Linked DNA regions of Homo sapiens: all the other regions are linked to region 1. Evidence: promoter capture Hi-C in 16 types of primary human blood cells and fetal thymus (Javierre and others, 2016). All regions are on one chromosome and are shown on one strand. The core of a region is centred on a gene start or on the middle of the fragment in contact, and the rest is flanking DNA. Distances in the headings are between cores, read along the strand shown. Region 1 holds the start of ZRANB2 (zinc finger RANBP2-type containing 2). Region 2 has its middle 11 kb from the start of ZZZ3. Region 3 has its middle 4.4 kb from the start of USP33. Region 4 holds the start of PIGK (phosphatidylinositol glycan anchor biosynthesis class K). Region 5 holds the start of LEPR (leptin receptor). Region 6 overlaps USP33 (ubiquitin specific peptidase 33).

Region 1 (2,739 bases), core at 127-2,626:
ATCATTAAGTGAGGCATGACTGTATATGCTGTATTCTAAAAAAAATTAATGCATTTATATACCAGAATCTATGCATAAGAATGCTCATACTGGTGTTGTTTGTAATACCAAGCCTGAGAAACAGAAGGAATAAACTGTCACAAAACCACAAAACGGAATAGTATCAGTATACATCAGTGCAAATAAAAGAATTACACCTATACACTTCTACATGCAACTACCTAGGATTAATTTAGAAGCATAATGAACAAAAAAAGAGTACAGAATCAACTATGCTTACACAGCTCATAAAATTAAACATACATGTATGTTAGGTTTTGAAGGGAAGGCAAGGATTAAAGAAAGAGAGGGTGGCTTAACAACAAATACAGGATTTATGTCCAGCATAAGACCTACAGAGGTGGGAGACCAGCTTAATGCCAGTGCCCGTTGCTTCTTACAGGCTGGGGTGATTTATAGGCCTGGGTGGGAGTGGTCTGGGGGGCCATGGCCTGCTTCCTGGGAACATGTTGATAAGGTGTTCCCAGGACGAGGCGGCTCTGGCCCTTGTTCCAGTGGAATGTGGTACTTTCTCCCAGCAGAGTATAAGAGGCAGCCTGTTTCTCACGCCCGAACCCCGTGGAATGTTTCACTTTGACTAAGGTCTGCAAAATGGCAGGGGGGCTTACAAAAATGGTGCAGTTTGGACTAACAACGTACATAAATTTTTAAAAAGCAAAAGAATAAATCCCAAATATGGGAAAGTGTTATCTGTGGAAGAAAGTAATGGGATGGTATCAGAAAAGACACTGGTAATTTAAACAGTGTTGACAATGTCTCAGTTTTAAAATTACCAGCTGGTTCCCATGTATAAGTTGCTTACTTATCTGTTACACCTATTTATGTATATATAAAAATAGGTTTCCAAACGACATCCCATGTGTATGAAATAACAGAATTTTTATGCCTTATTAAAATAATTTCTCTAAACACTTGAAGAGCCCGAGCCGCCTCTTACCCTAAACGAACCCCACGCCCCTGAATTGATCAGTCACTTCCGCCTCCACCTTTCCAGCTCCACCTAAGGAAGCGGAAGTACTTTACTCTTGGGTCCTCCCACCTGTAGGGGGCTCTCCGAGGCTTCTAGTGCCACGAAGGCCTCCTGCCTGGGTTGTCCTTATGGCGCCTGTGAGTTTAGTTCTAGAAAAGATATTTGTATTTTAACTTTTCCATCTAACAAACAGTAGCACAGGCATCTTAGTCTGGACAACAACGTACAAGCTGAATTCCTGGCTAGTTCCCTCATTATCAAACCCTGACACAGTAGTAGGCGCGAGTCAGGCAGTGTGGGGACAGCCCCGAGTTGCCGAAAGTCCCCGGCCCGTTTTCCTCCTGTGAAGACATAGCTGCGGGTGGCTGTGCTGGTGGCGTTCAAGATGTCGACCAAGAATTTCCGAGTCAGTGACGGGGACTGGATTTGCCCTGACAAAAAGTGAGTTCAAGAAGGGTCCTGAATTGGGACGGAGTTTGTTAGTGGAAGCTTTCCGAGGTCCGTCCGGCATTTTCCTTTTTTATGATTTTCTGTGCCTTAAGACGGGTTGAGGCGGCGAACCGCCAGTTCCCTGGCGGGAAGAAGGCTCCCAATCTCCTCACGAGAGAGGTCTTTCCGGGAGCCTTTGTTCTAGATATGTCTTCAGCGTTTCCTCGACATTACCTCCGCAAGGTAGCCTCTCTTTTTAGAGTGCGAGATGGCCTACCTTTTTGCCCCCACCCCCCTCCCCCGCCCCGGCCAGGTTTTAGCGATAGGAAACCTCTCCAGTCAGGCCAGCTTGGTGTTGGATCTCCCCCACGTGACTTTTCTCTGCAGAACTTTACTCTTGTTCACGGAAAATATTGCTTTCTCGCACTCGTCCTTTTGCCTCTTATAGTTCACCTTGTTTTGTATTTTTACTCAAACTTTTCCTCCATACTATTTTCCCCTTTTCCGGAAGCTCTACCCTCTTCGGTTTGGGAAATTCTGACATTTTCTTTGTGGATCATTTCTCCACAAGAATTGGGCTTTTCGCCTCCTTAGAGCCGAAAAGGAGGGAAGAGGCCTGTGTTTTTGCCTACTCAGCCCTTAAGATGCCTGCAGCAGAGAAGCACGTGTGTTAGTGGCTCTGCTTTTTGACATTGTTGCCAAAGCCAGTACTCGACTAGATAGTTAATCAGATTTTTTTTGAAGGGTGCACAAATAGGTGTATCTATTCGGAAATAACATGGAAAATAATTTAATGTACAACTCATGTTCACATAAAAGCCTTTTATTTGTTGTACCTAAGTTAGCCACAAATAGGTTTTGATTGTAAAAAGCAAAAACTTTGAAATAAACCTGGGTTTAGTTAAAATTCTATTACTTATTTAACTGCTAAAAAAGGAATAGAATTTTTTTTTTAATGAAAACATGAAATAACATGGATAGGGTGTGTAAACAGTGACGTGTAGCAAATTCTAATTGGTGGCTATTGATAGTAATTTGATATTAAGATGACCTGAAGGAGTAGTTCAAGCCTAACAAATGATACTGAATAGAACCAAAGTTATATGTTATGGATAGTATTGCTCTGAGTGGTAAGACATTATTGAAAACGTTCAAAAGATTTAGAACAACAACTTCTGACTTTGTTGTTACCTGTAAAATAATGTGCTTTTGTCAGTGTCTTTAATGACAGCACACCCAGAGGTAGGACTCTCAATGAGAGTTCATTTCAACTCATTTAC
Region 2 (2,700 bases), core at 29-2,528, 6.6 Mb before region 1:
TCACTGCAGTCTCCATCTCCTGGGATCAAGCGATCCTCCCACCTCAGCCTCCTGAGTACCTGAGACCACAGGTGTGCACCACCACACCTGGATAATTTGTTTTATTTTTTGTAAAGTCTGACTTTATTGCTTGGGCTGGTAATCAGTGTAGTAAAATTTTGATGTTTAATGAAATGAATTTTAATAAGCAGCCATTTAAGATCTATTTGAAGTTTTAAAAAATATATAGTAAAATATGATTCTACTATAGTAAAATATGATCTTCCTCAAGGTCTGAATGTTACTGATTTTTTGTGAATCACCAGAATTTAGTGTATTGTCTAGTATTTAGTGGTTAGTCAAAAAAGATTTGATTTTAATGATTGTTATTTATTGAAACTTAGAATGTTTCAGTCATTTTACTAAAGTTATTTCCTTATATTTAATCCTCCTAACAACTCTATGATATAGGTTAAATGGTTTGCCCAAAGTCATACAGCAAAGAAGTGGCAGATACAGGACTCCAACTCATGGCTTTATATAATAAAGAGCCTATTTTAAATTGAGACTAGTAGTCAGAAAATTATTTACCATAATGTAATCCCCAATGAATTCCTTTGAAACTGGTTGTGGTATCAGTCATATCAGTAGTGTCTGTTATTGGGATATATAATAAGATAAAGATACTGGTCCCTAAGAGCTTATATATATATATATATATATATATTTTTTTTTAATAGTTTTTTCGAGACAGGGTCTCACTCTGTCGCTCAGGCTGGAGTGCAGTGGTGCAATCTCAGCTCACATGCGACCTCGACCTCCTGGGCTCAAGCAATTCTCCCACCTCAGCATCCTGAGTAGCTGGAACTACAAGAATATGCCACCACACCCAGCTAATTCTTGTATTTTTTGTAGAGGCAGCATTTTGCCATGTCACCCAGGCTGGTTTCGATCTCCTGAACTCAAGCAATCCACCCGCCTTGGCCTCCCAAAGTGTTGGGATTACAGGCGTGAACCACCATGACCGGCCAATTTTTTTTACATTATAATTGTCAAAATACATAATATGTTCAGTAAAGGTCTAGCAATACCATAGACTCATAGCTAAAAATTGATCTATGTGTTGACAGATGTGGGATAAAATAAATAGTTTCTCTAAGGATGATTTTCCTGGAAATAAGCTGAGAATTAGGAAAATTGCAATCAAAGGCTAGTGAGAGCCTATATGTGTTAAGAGTCTATTGATTTATAGGCCAGGTGTGGTGGCTCATGCCTGTAATCCCAGCAGTTTGGGAGGCCAAGGTGGGTGGATCACTTGAGGTCAGGAGTTTGAGACCAGCCTGACCAACATGGTGAAACCCCATCTCTACTAAAAATACAAAATTAGCTGGCGTGGTGGCATGCGCCTGTAATCCCAGCTACTTGGGAGGCTGAGGCAGGAGAATTGCTTGAACCCGGGAGGCAGAGGTTGCAGTGAGCCAAGATCGTGCCACTGCACTCCAGCCTGGGCAACAAGAGCAAAACTCCATCTAAAAAAAAAAAGAAAAAAGAGTCTTGATTTATAATATGAAGGTGATTACTTTTGAGGCCCTGAAGTCCATTTGTTTAAATTCAAGTCCTAGTAGCTATATTAACTATGATTTGGAACAATATTTAAAGTTCTCTGATTTCCAGTTTTCTTCATTTGCTAAATGAGAATGTTGTAGTTTGGGCTTTCCAGGAAGCAGACACTGAGATAGTGTTAATGCATGCATATGATTTGTTGGGGAATAACACAGATGAAAGAAATGAGAGAAACAGGATTGAGCAGGAGGAGTAACCAGAATGATGCAGACCTGACAAATTCTCTGCCAGGTCTCCATAAGGCAATATGGAGCTAAGATTACCCATTGGAGGAGCCCTGCATTGGGCAGAAATGACTAGGTCCTTGTACTGTCACTAGGCCTTGTTCTGTCACTGACTAGTGGCTACCTGGAAAGGAGAATACACTCAGCTTGACCCTGATGGAGCTAACAGAGGTTGTTACCCAACCCTCTTCCTCTCAGCTGCGCAGCAAGTGCTTTCTGGAAGAGGGGTCTGAACAGCAATCTTCATGGCTGCCACACTTAATCATAGGATTATGATAATTATGTGTATTATATATAATATATACAACATAATTGGCACTCGGTGATGTAATTCATCATTCTCTTTCTCCTTTTCAAAATGTGTAATTTCTTTTTTTTTTTTTTTTGAGATGGAGTCTCTCTGTCGCCCATGCTGGAGTGCAGTGGCGTGATCTCTGCTAACTGCAACCTCTGCTTCTCAGGTTCAGGCAATTCTCCTGCCTCAGCTTCCCGAGTAGCTGGGACTACAGGTGCACGCCACCATGCCTGGCTAATTTTTGTATTTTTAGTAGAGACGGGGTTTCACCATGTTGGTTAGGCTGGTCTCAAACTCCTGACCTCAAGTGATCCACCCGCCTCAGCCTCCCAAAGTGCTGGGATTACAGGCGTGAGCCACCACGTGCTAGGCCCAAAATGTGTAATTTCTAAGGATGCAACATTATTTATGTAAGAGTCCTGTCAAAAATGTTGAATCTGAATCTATGAAGAGAAGAGAAGCAAGATAACTTTTTATATTTAAATTTCAATAGTTTTGGGGTACAGGTGGTTTTTGGTTACATGGATAAGTTCTTTAGCAGTGATTTCTGAGATTTTGGTGCACTAGTCACTCGAGCGG
Region 3 (2,700 bases), core at 135-2,634, 6.7 Mb before region 1:
ATCCAAATTCTGTATCCCAGTTCACCTATGGGCTTCAAGTGGCTTACAGGTATGCCAAGGCAGTGATCCCTGCTGGAAACCTCTAACAGCAAGCATCCTTGTCTATTGATCCCAGTGTATTATAATTTTCTAAATGACCTGATCTGATAATCTAAGAAAACTCTGAGAAGCACTAGCCTAAACTAGAGCACCAATTCTCAACTGGGTGTGATTTTGCCCCTTGGGTGACTTTTGGCAATGTTTGGAGACATTTTTGTTTGTTATCACTGGAGGAGGTGCTGCTGGGATCTAGTAGGTAAAGACTAAAGATGCTGCTAAATATCCTTCAGTGCACAGGAACCACCCTCCACAACAAAGAATTATTTAATCCAAAATGTCCGTGTCGCGTCATTTTTTAGAAACTTTGAGCTAGGGTAACCTGAATCGTTACTCTAAGAGTGAATAGATGATAACAGATTCTTGGCAGAGACTTCAAATGTCAGTGCCAAATTACACATCTTAAGTTAAGATACCTCCATGATGGGTGGGGAAATAGGTGCTTCTGTCTCATCTCAAGCCAAGTCTGAGGGGCTTCAAGAGAACCATTTGGAAAAGATGAGATGTGCCCCTTGAATCTTACAGAGATGATATCTGGTAACTGATGTACATTTGAAAAGTTCTAAATCAAGAGACTGAGGCCGCCTCTGAGCAGAAGATGCATATAGGGGCTGGGTATGGAGGCTCATGCCGGTAATCCCAGCACTTTGGGAGGCTGAGGCAGGCAGATCACTTGAGGTCAGGAATTCAAGACCAGCGTGGCCAACAATGACGAAACCCCGTCTCTGCTAAAAAAAAAAAAAATACAAAAATTAGCCGGGCATGGTAGTGCCTGCTTGTAGTCCCAGCTACTCGGGAGGCTGAGGCAGGAGAATCACTTGAACCCAGGAGGCAGAGGTTGCAGTGAGCCAGGATTGTGCCACTGCACTGCAGCGAGACTTTCACACACACACAAAATGCATATAGGGCTGATTGGGAACAGTTCACACTTCTGTGCAAGATACTTGTATGCTTTTTGTGGACTAAGTGAGAACCTCATGTAAGAGATTTGGACTGGGTCACCTTGAAAATGTCTGTCCAAAAGGACTGTCAGTTTGGGTGAGAGGATCCCTGGAAATCAGGGGACTAAGGACTAGGTCATAGGTGGCCATCCAGAAGATACATTGCTGAGCCAAGAGACTGTAGGTGAGGGTTCCAGTGATGGACTCCATGAGAGAAAGAGTCAGCTTCAGACCTCAGCCACTCCCAAAAGTCACTGACTGCTAAAACTGTGTCAGTCCAGAAAGATCCTTTCTGTTCTTGTCTTCTTCAACTGTGGAGGGGCACAAAACAAAAAGCCAATAAGCCAGGGAGAAGGGAGAACAAGGTAGAGGAAATGGCAGAGAATTTTTGATATTGCACTGGACAGGATTTTTTTCTAATACTAGGGGCAAAAGGCCACTTTTTTTTATTACTAGAAAATTACTGGAGGACTTTTTTTTTTTTTTTTTCTGACAGAGAGGCTCTTGCTCTGTCACCAAGCTGGAGTACAGTGGCACGATTATAGCTCACTCACTGCAGTCTCAAACTCCTGGGCTCAAGGGATCCTCCTGCCTCAGCCTCTGGAGTAGCTGTACTACAGGCATGTGCCATCGTATCCTGGTATTATTTTTTAAAATTTTTTGTAGAGGCAGAATTTCACTTTGTTAACCAGGCTGGTCTCGAACTCCTGGGCTCAACTGATCCTCCCACCTTGGCTTTGAAAAGTGTTGAATTATAGGCATGAGCCAACACACCTGGCCTGGTGGACTTTTTAATTATGTGACAGTGAGCGGAAAAGCAAAAATGCTTTGCCTAAGATTTGTTTTAAAATATATTTTTCTTTTCTTTCTTTCTTTTTTTTTTGTTCTTGTTTTTGTTTTTTGAGAGACAGGGTCTCACTCCTATTGCCCAGGCTGGAGAGGGGTGGCACAGTCATGGCTCATGACAGTCTTAATTTCCTGGGCTCAAGTGATTCTCTCACCTCACCCTCCATAGTAGCTGGGACTACAGGCATGATCCACCATGCCCGGCTAATTGTTGCAATTTTTTGTAGAGACAGGGTTTCGCCATGTTGCCCAGGCTGGTCTTGAACTCTGGTCTCAAGCAGCCGCAGCTTTCCAAAGTGTTGGGATTACAGGCATGAGCTACTGCGCCCTGCCCAGAAACATATTTTATTTTACTTTGAGACAGAGTTTTGCTCTTGTTGCCCAGGCTGGAATGCAGTGGTGCCATCTCAGCTCACTGCAACCTCCGCCGCCCGGGTTCAAGCGATTCTCCTGCCTCAGCCTCCCGAGTAGCTGGGATTATAGGTACCTGCACCACACCCAGCTAATTTTTGTATTTTTGATAGAGATGGAGTTTCATCATGTTGGCCAGGCTGGTCTCGAACTCCTGATCTCAGGTGATCCGCCCAACTCGGCCTTCCAAAGTGCTGGGATTACAGACGTGAGCCACTGGGCCCGGCCCAAAGACATATTTTAAAGCCCCAGCTTAAATCAGAGTTTCTCAATAGTGGCATTAATGATGTCTGGGACTCTCTTGTAATATCAATGCAAAGGAATGTTACTAATTCTTTCTCCCACCAATCCTCTTCAGAAATATTGCCAACTATCCACTCAGGGGACAAAACCACCCCCAGTTGAG
Region 4 (2,700 bases), core at 3-2,502, 6.1 Mb before region 1:
AAAGTGCAATAGCAAAAGAAACAAATAAAAGGAAAAGAGAGACAAGAGAATGGGAAAAGCAATAGCATAAAATATGGCAAAGGCTAATGTTACTTATTTATAAATATATTATTCAAATTCATATGCAAAACATAAATATATAAACAAAGAATTTACATCAGAGGACACAGAGATAGTTTAGAAACACAAGAAAGACATCAGATCTTGATAGTAACCAAAGAATTATAAGTATAGTTACCTAGGGGTAACATTTCATACCAAAGAATTTAAAGGAAAAAAAATGGTATGGTTTGGTGTTGTGTATTCTGATAGTGCTGTAAGCTTGTTCATTTTGGAAAGCAACATCATTTATAGTTATTAAAATGTTTTGGAATATTTTGACCCCAAATTCCTAGTTCAGGAAAATTATACAAACAAAATAATTCAACAGATTTAAAAAGCCAAACACACAAAAGATACTCTTTACAATATTATTTTCATAGTAAAACTTAAAAACTTTGCATTGTGCAGCAGAGGGACAATTACTTTGGCTGAGGCATCAATAATGGATGGAATTTTATCTCACCATTAAATGTTAAAATTGTGAGGAAGCAGCGTGGAAACGTTTATGTCATACTAGATGAAATGCATAAATTAAAACTGAACTCACATAATAAAGAGAATGGTGGACCATACATATACACCAGCTGTGTCTCTTCCAGATAGGCTTTAGTTCCATAATTACAGAAGATACTCAAGAAACAAAAACGTAACTAGCTTCCCATGTTAATCCTTTCACCAGGTAGTAGACCCCAAGCCTCTAAATTGCAGCGCCCACCCACATTTTCCATTTATAGTTTATCCAATTAATCATCTTTTTGTGCCAAAACGCTTGTTCTTCCCACCACATCCAGCTTCATATTTTCAAAGAATTGGCAGCACTCGGCAAAATAAATAAATAAATAAATAAATAAATAAATAAAATAAATAAGGGAACAGAGAAATAAGTTTTTAAAGTTTAAGGAGTTACGGGTTTTCCCTCCACTCACCTTTCAATTTTTTTTCTTAAATGTTATACCTATTTTACAACCTCCAAACTGAAAATGCAGTTAAAAATAAAAAGGTCAATATCCTGCGTCTACCTTGTCCCGGACTCTCGAGCTCCACAAAACCGCAGAGTTCTAAAGCCGGACCAGAGGGCCACCTCGAAGAGGCGCGGATGGTGTCGCAAAAACCCGCAGCGCTACTTTACGGCACTGCCTCCGCCCCTTCAGGTGCGGGAAGTCTGAAGCCGGTAAACATGGCCGTCACCGACAGCCTCAGCCGGGCTGCGACTGTCTTGGCAACTGTGTTGCTCTTGTCCTTCGGCAGCGTGGCCGCTAGTCATATCGAGGTAGGAGTCAGGCTCATTTGACCACAGCCGGGAGGCCGGCTGTGAGCCCTCCAGCAGATGTCCGATACACAGTAGCTGAGGGACGCCTCCTGGAGTCAATCAGCCCCTGACCCAGGCTGGGTTTGAGGAGGGTATCACTGGGCACGGGTTAGGACACTGTTGGTCTGTTTCAGCGTTTTAAAACGATGAATTGAAATAATCAAACCCTCGGAGACAGAGGAGGACCTGATCCTTTGCTCCTACATGTGTGCAGTTCTTAGGTGAAATACGAGCAAGAGGCTCGTGAAATGTCAGTGTGCAGCAACTGCTTTCCTACTACTCAACTGCAGCCCTCTGTTTTGATAGGAGTCAGACGGAACTGGAGAGATGAGGGCAATTTTAAGAATCCAGATAATAGAATTTAGTGATAATTAGAACATGGGATAAATATAAGTGTTTATTAAAACTCTCAAGTTTCTGGCTTAGGGGCAACACGTCTGGGTTAAGAAATGGAAGAGAAAAGGGGTGCTTAGTTTTATCCTGGGCTCCTCCAGCTTCCCATTTTTAAACGTGGACACAGGATGTTCTGGTGCTCTATAATGCTTTTACTATTCACCATACTCTGATGATTCCTCAGTCCCGGTCTACAATCTAGATGTCTGGTATCTTTTTCAGGCCTGCATATCCAGCTGACTAAGAATCCGGGATAGTCAGGAGACATTTGAAAATCCGTGTGCAAAGTTTTATCTTCTGCTTATCCTACCTCCTCTTAAAAAGACACTGAAAAACTAAGCACCCCTTTTCTCCTCCATTTCTCAACCAGATGTGCTGCTCCTAAGCTAGAAACCTGAGAGTCTTAATCTCTTTATCCCATATTCTAATTATCACTAAATTTTGTGATCTGAGTTCTTAAAATTGCCCTCACCTCTCCAGTTCCACTGACTTAATTCAGGCTGTGATCACTTCTTGTCTAGACTCTTGCGATTACTTTATCTTGTTTTCCATAGGCCTCCATACTCCCTGAGTTTGGTGCTAGATTCGTCTACACGAAATGTAAGCCTGATCAGGTTATTCTTCTGATGAAATCTTTTAAATATTTATTAATTGCATACAGAATAAAGTCTAAACGTTATGACCTGGTGCTTGCCTACTTTTCCAGTGTTCCATATTGGAACCTCTTCTCCCCACCACCTGGGCACCTTGAGCTTAGACCAGTGGACTCCAAACTTTTTGAATACACACCCTATCAGTTAAAAAAAGATATTGAGCATGAACTTCATATATATTTATGAATTACTGTTAATTTATATATTTGATGTTTATATAGCATAATTTTTAGAGAACATAAA
Region 5 (2,700 bases), core at 121-2,620, 5.7 Mb after region 1:
TAAACACTGACATAGTAATATAATTATTTCCAGCTCTGTCACCCACCAATAACTTCTCATTTATCTTTGTATCCTAAGTCTCTGGCATACAGTAGTTCCTCAATAAAAGTTGAACAATCTGTAAAATGCTTCCTTCCCTTAGTCCGTTTCCATTTCAGACTTCCTTTTTTTTCACTACATCACAATTTTCTAACACATTCACACATAAACGTGATCATGATTTGGTAGTTTCTGATCATGTGTAGTACTGAGACACTACTTTTCATCTGTTTTCGGCATTGGCTTCAAATGGATATATAACACAGTCGACACTCTCCAAGTAAACCATGTTTACTAAACTGATATTAAGTATAAAAGTCAGCCAGAAATAACGATAAAATGTCTGCTGCTAACAGCTCACATACTCGGATAAATTCATAGTGAACAGAGGCGTACTCGTATATATACTATCTACATGTTTATAGCAGATGTTAACTGGGGATATCTTTGGGTGCAAATTTCAAGGATGATATAAAAGCCAATATAAAAACAAGTCATGCTACTCTATTCGACAGATTAGAAATGGAATGTTTTCCTACCAAAATACAGGAAGCCTTGCAAAAAACCTTTTCCGTCTCGCATTGCTCTGAAGCCATACAGATAAGGGACGCGGTGTTTTTACCAACTGCCCCATGCAAAAAACACATACTACACACACACTGGTTTCTTCTCTGTCCATAAACAGAGAAAACACCGAAGAAAGCAGTATTAAAATTACACGTAATCTACTCTCCACGACTGCGAGAAACACCGTCTTTCTGGGTGCTTTCCATTGACACCCGCCCGCGGTCAACTCTGCCCAGTTGGAAAAATCATTAGGAAAAAGAGGATTAAGTTTCCCAATGCTAAGAACGCTGGAGACAAAGGGTCCTTTGTGGCAAATAGGAAACTGCGGAGGGGCAGAAAACCAGAAGAAAGGCGTTAGGGTGGCGTCAAGAAGTGGAAACCTTGTTTAAAAACTCAGGAGAGGTGGAGGGCGCCGCTCTCGCCGAGGGCTCAGGCTGGGGAGGGGTCTGGTGCCGCCACTGGAGAGCAGGAAGGCCAGCGGCCTTGCAAAAAGGGCCAAGGCTCCCCCGAAACGCCGCTCCACCCACACCCCAAGGGACGAAGGGAGCGGTCGATCGCCTCCCGAACCGGAGAGGCGGGAAGGGTGGTGAGGCCGTTCCCCAACGGCGCGCGGAAGGCGCAGCCCCAGGCTTGACCGGAACGGAGGTGGCAACCCCACCACACGACAAGCGAGCCGGGGACCGCGATGTACCTTTAACGCCCGCCATGTCTCCCGAACTGGGGCCGCGGCTGCTTCCGGCTTCCTGCCACGGCCCGGGCAGCCTGCCCAAGCCAGACCGGGAGTCGCCCCGCGGATCCCGAGCCCGCCCCGGCCACGCAGAGCCCCGCCCCCGCCGGTGCAGAACTCCGACCTTAGCTCGCAAACGCGGCGCCTGCTGCTCCAGACCCCGCCCCCACCACTCACAACCCCGCCCCCGCCGGTGCAGAACCCCGCCCCCAGCTCGCAGAGGCCGCGCCTGATAGTTCAGACCCGGCCTCGCTACTCAGAGCCCCGCCCCTGACAGTACAGAGCTCCTCCCCTACCTCGCGGAGGCAGCGCCTGCGGCTCCAGACCTCGCTACCGCTACTCGAAGCCCCGCCCCAGACAATGCAGAGCTCCTCCCCTAGCTCGCGGAGGCCTCCCCTGCTGGTCCCGCCCCAGCCCTCACCGGCCCAGAATTCCGCCCCCAACTCTCAGAGGCCGTCCCTGCTGGTCCCGACCCCGCCCCCGCCACCCAGAACTCCGCTCCTGCCAGTCTAGAACTCCGCCCCCAGCTCGCAGAGTCCATCTCCAGCCCTAAGGTCCCACCTGGTCCCACAGAGCTTTCCCAGAGTAACCCCAACCCAGTGCCCTGGGCCCTCCTCCTAGATCCTGAGCCCTCCAAGTAATCCTCAAGCCCGTTCAATGTGGGTTGGGACCTTGGCTCCGCCCCGACCGCGGGCCCAGAGTCTCTCCCCGGCCTCTCAGAACGCAGTGCACGCAGCGGGGGATCCTCCCTGAGCCTTCCTGAGAACGGAGATGTAGAAAGTGGGGAGAGGCAGGAGAGGGAAGGAGGGGAAAAGTTGCAATCGATGGGAGAGGGACACCGACTCACTAACCAGTGTTATGTTCCCTGAGCTCCCAAGTGCGTGCTAGTGTGCGAGTGTGTGCCTGTCTGCCTTCACATGACTGTGGCAGAGGAGAGGCGGGGTACCAGAGGACAGGCCCCTTAGGAAACACTCCTCATTAAGAACTTGATATTTGCATAGGTTTGCTTTGCTTAATAGCAACGCTTTACTGAAACTAGCGGGGTTTTTCTTTACTCCCTGGTTTATTTATAGAGACGAAGACCATATAAGCTTTTGTGTCCGAAGCTTTCATGAACCTTAAAAAAAAAAATAAAAAAAAAAAGCTATTATTTTTGTGCCTTGGGGCCTCAAAGTTTGCAGGTAACCAAGGCCAGTTTTTAGATCTCTGAGAGCCATTGTGTACTTATCTTACAGGAATGGAGAGTTCTGTTTTGGCAAAAGCAATCTAGAAGATCATTGAAACAGTCTGGTCCAAATGCTTCAACTTACATTTAAGGAAAGAGGTGCAGAAAGGATAGGACTTGCCTGTCACACAGCTCTTTGGAG
Region 6 (2,700 bases), core at 83-2,582, 6.7 Mb before region 1:
GTAATTTGTTTTTGATGTACATGGTGTAGTTTGTGTGTTTTGTGCTGAGTTTAAATTGCTTGTGGATCTGTAGGGCTCTAGTTTTCATCAAATTTGAACATTTTCCCCTATATCACTGATGTTCTGATTTAATTTTTAAGATTAAGATTTAGTCTATCTTTGTTCTGTCATCTGTGCTATTTCTTGGTTTCTTCTTTTTCTCTTCACTGTGGGTCAGAATTTCCTTCTTAGAATGCCTGTCATTTTTTATTAGATGCCAGTTATTGTGATTTTTACCTTGATGGGTACTGAATTTTTTCATTCCTTTAAATGTCCTTAAGCTTTGTTCCGAACACAATTCCTTTGGAACAGTTTGATCCTTCTAAGACTTCTTTTTGAACTTTTTTTTTTTTTTTTGAGACAGAGTCTTGCTCTGTCCTCAGGTTGGATTGCAGTGGCGCGATCTCAGCTCACTGCAACCTCTGCCTCCTGGGTTCAAGCAATTCTCCTGTCTCAGCCTCCTGAGTAGCTGGGACTATAGGTGCACACCACCACGCCCAGCTAATGTTTGTATTCTTAGTAGAGATGGGGTTCCCTTGGCCAGGATGTTCTCGATCTCCTGACCTCGTGATCCGTCCACCTTGGCCTCCCAAAGTGTTGGGATTACAGGGGTGAGCCACTGCGCCCAGCCCTTTTTGAACTTTTTAAAGACAGAACCAAAGTAACCTTTAGATTAAGGATAATTTCTTCCGATTATTGAGGCAATGCCATTCTGAGTGCATTATTTCCTCTATTATGGTGTCTTTCAACTGTGGCTGATGAGAATACCAACAACCCTTAAAGGCTTTGAGAATTGTTTTACCTAATCCTTTCCCGTGGTTTTTTTCTCTGGCTTGGGGTAGTCTAATCACATGGCGTGCACCTGTAGTTGTAGCTACATGGGAGGCTGAGACAGGAGGACGGTTTGAGACCAGGAGGTTGAGGCTGCAGTGAGTTGTGTTTGCCCCATTGTACTCCAGTGTGAGTGACAGAATGAGGCCCTGTCTCAAAAGAAAAAAGAAATGTTTGCACTATTAACCCTAGAGTGGTTCCTGGTGAATTTTGTGTGTTGCAGCGTAATAGTGAATTGATTATTTGATTTGATTTTGTTCAACTTTTCTTAAAAAAATGTATTTACACAAACCTGCACATTGTGCACATGTACCCTAGAACTTAAAGTATAATAAAAAAAATGTATTTACTAATGTGTTAATATTTCAGCAAATTTATTGCAATGGGTTTAAAAGGCAGACAGAGGCCAGGCGCAGTGGCTCACACCTGTAATCCCAGGACTTTGGGAGACTGAGGCGGGTGGATCACCTGAGGTCGGGAGTTCGAGATCAGCCTGACCAACATGGAGAAACCCCATCTCTACTAAAAATACAAAAAAAGTGGTCGGGTGTGGTGGCGCATGCCTGTAATCCCAGCTACTCGGGAGGCTGAGGCAGGAGAATCACTTGAACCTGGGAGGTGAAGTTTGCGGTGAGCTGAGATCACGCCATTGCACTCCAGCCTGGGCAGCAAGAGTGAAACTCTGTCTCAAAAATAAATAAATAAATAAATAAATAAATAAATAAATAAATAATAAAAGGCAGACAGACACTCTTATATAAGCTACAGGGTAACAAAGGGGTTCTATATAGTTATAAACTATTACATAGACCTGCATGGTTTATTGAATAACTTATAAACCACAAAGGAAATTAAATTTACAGTGTTTCTGAAGTTCAAACTTTTAAACTGTTTCATTCTATCCTAGCAAGTTCTAAACTTTTTTTGGGAAAGTGTTCTCAAACCTCAAAGTTGAATTAAGAGCATGAAAAGCCCTGTTATTAAAAAGGTACAACCAAAAGATCTAGGAATACCAAATTAGACTTGAGACCTTTGGAAATCACTCGCTTTACTTGAACCAAACACTGTGGATCAGTAAAGTTTGCATCTCTTAGCCTTATGTGCAAATGAAGCTAATAATGGTGCCTATTTCAGGGGTTGTAAAGATCATGAAAATGGGGTTCTCAAACCTGGAGAGATTTTGTCCCCCAGAGGGTATAATTTAAAACAGTCTAGAGACACTGGTCATCAGAGTTCAGAGTGGTGGCAGGGATGGTCTGTCTGTCTCTTGTGGATAGAAGTGGGAATGTTGCCAAATAACCTGCAGTGCACAGGACAATCCCTCACAGCGAAGAATTATCTGGCCCTAAGTGTCAATAGTGCCGGGATCGAGAAACCCTGATATAAAGTGCTTATCCTGGTATAAGGCCAGGATACCAGATGATTTAATTTATGCCATCAGTAGGGGGTCCTATTAGTAGAAAAATGAAGCTTTCTACTTGAAGTTTTTTTTTTTCAACTCCTAGTCCAGCCTAAGGATTAATTTTTTTTTTAAAAGGATAAAAGTGCTTCACAGTTGAATAACTTGAATATTCCCCCCTTTTATTTATCTATAAAAAGTGAAATGAGAGGGGAAAAGCAGCAAAAGTCATGGAGAAACAAACTTACATTTGTTTATAGATGTCAATTTTAATAAAATGTTTATGTAGTAGAGAAATTTCCAGTGTTCAGATTAACTTCAATTCTGAAAACTCATCTATGTTTGAGAATACACTCTTTTTACAGGGCAAACTTATATCATTCTTATGTTATCTTTTAATCATTTTTAATATGTTAACATTTTAATTTTTT

The links. Contacts are between HindIII fragments. The CHiCAGO score rates a contact against its expected background, and 5 or more counts as called.
Region 2: a fragment that was not itself captured here is called in contact with the fragment with the promoter of ZRANB2 in region 1 in 1 of 17 cell types (naive CD8 T cells); the score reaches 6.1 in naive CD8 T cells.
Region 3: a contact is called between a fragment that was not itself captured here and the fragment with the promoter of ZRANB2 in region 1, in 3 of 17 cell types (total B cells, non-activated CD4 T cells and activated CD4 T cells). The highest score is 13.9, in total B cells.
Region 4: a contact is called between the fragment with the promoter of PIGK here and the fragment with the promoter of ZRANB2 in region 1, in 4 of 17 cell types (total B cells, total CD8 T cells, naive CD8 T cells and 1 more). The highest score is 10.8, in total B cells.
Region 5: a contact is called between the fragment with the promoter of LEPR here and the fragment with the promoter of ZRANB2 in region 1, in 5 of 17 cell types (non-activated CD4 T cells, activated CD4 T cells, naive CD4 T cells and 2 more). The highest score is 15.1, in non-activated CD4 T cells.
Region 6: a contact is called between a fragment that was not itself captured here and the fragment with the promoter of ZRANB2 in region 1, in 1 of 17 cell types (naive CD4 T cells). The highest score is 5.1, in naive CD4 T cells.

Annotation. Positions count from the first base shown.
Region 1 is chr1:71,079,672-71,082,410 of GRCh38, reverse strand. ZRANB2 (zinc finger RANBP2-type containing 2) reads left to right here and starts at 1,376. Exons shown (of 10, transcript NM_203350.3): 1 at 1,376-1,471. The coding sequence starts at 1,416. It overlaps ZRANB2-DT (ZRANB2 divergent transcript), which reads right to left and starts at 1,087. Exons shown (of 4, transcript NR_046217.1): 1 at 998-1,087. RefSeq lists an enhancer at 1,137-1,426. The HindIII fragment of the contact is 3,322 bases long and covers 1-1,521 here.
Region 2 is chr1:77,692,568-77,695,267 of GRCh38, reverse strand. No RefSeq gene overlaps it. Among named protein-coding and RNA genes, the nearest start is that of ZZZ3, 11 kb to the right of the region's middle. The HindIII fragment of the contact is 7,698 bases long and covers 1-2,700 here.
Region 3 is chr1:77,762,926-77,765,625 of GRCh38, reverse strand. No RefSeq gene overlaps it. Among named protein-coding and RNA genes, the nearest start is that of USP33, 4.4 kb to the right of the region's middle. The HindIII fragment of the contact is 3,252 bases long and covers 1-2,700 here.
Region 4 is chr1:77,217,982-77,220,681 of GRCh38, reverse strand. It overlaps PIGK (phosphatidylinositol glycan anchor biosynthesis class K), which reads left to right and starts at 1,252. Exons shown (of 11, transcript NM_005482.3): 1 at 1,252-1,372. The coding sequence starts at 1,280. LOC105378808 (a long non-coding RNA gene) reads right to left here and starts at 1,162. Exons shown (of 3, transcript XR_001738109.2): 1 at 1,029-1,162. RefSeq lists an enhancer at 1,459-1,568. The HindIII fragment of the contact is 2,966 bases long and covers 324-2,700 here.
Region 5 is chr1:65,419,338-65,422,037 of GRCh38, reverse strand. It overlaps LEPR (leptin receptor), which reads right to left and starts at 1,370. Exons shown (of 20, transcript NM_002303.6): 1 at 1,298-1,370. LEPROT (leptin receptor overlapping transcript) reads right to left here and starts at 1,370. Exons shown (of 4, transcript NM_017526.5): 1 at 1,298-1,370. The coding sequence starts at 1,313. RefSeq lists enhancers at 867-916, 990-1,523, 1,524-2,056 and silencers at 1,287-1,786, 1,807-1,876. The HindIII fragment of the contact is 9,332 bases long and covers 1-2,426 here.
Region 6 is chr1:77,741,819-77,744,518 of GRCh38, reverse strand. The region is part of intron 1 of USP33 (ubiquitin specific peptidase 33); the gene reads left to right. Among named protein-coding and RNA genes, the nearest start is that of USP33, 17 kb to the left of the region's middle. The HindIII fragment of the contact is 2,020 bases long and covers 323-2,342 here.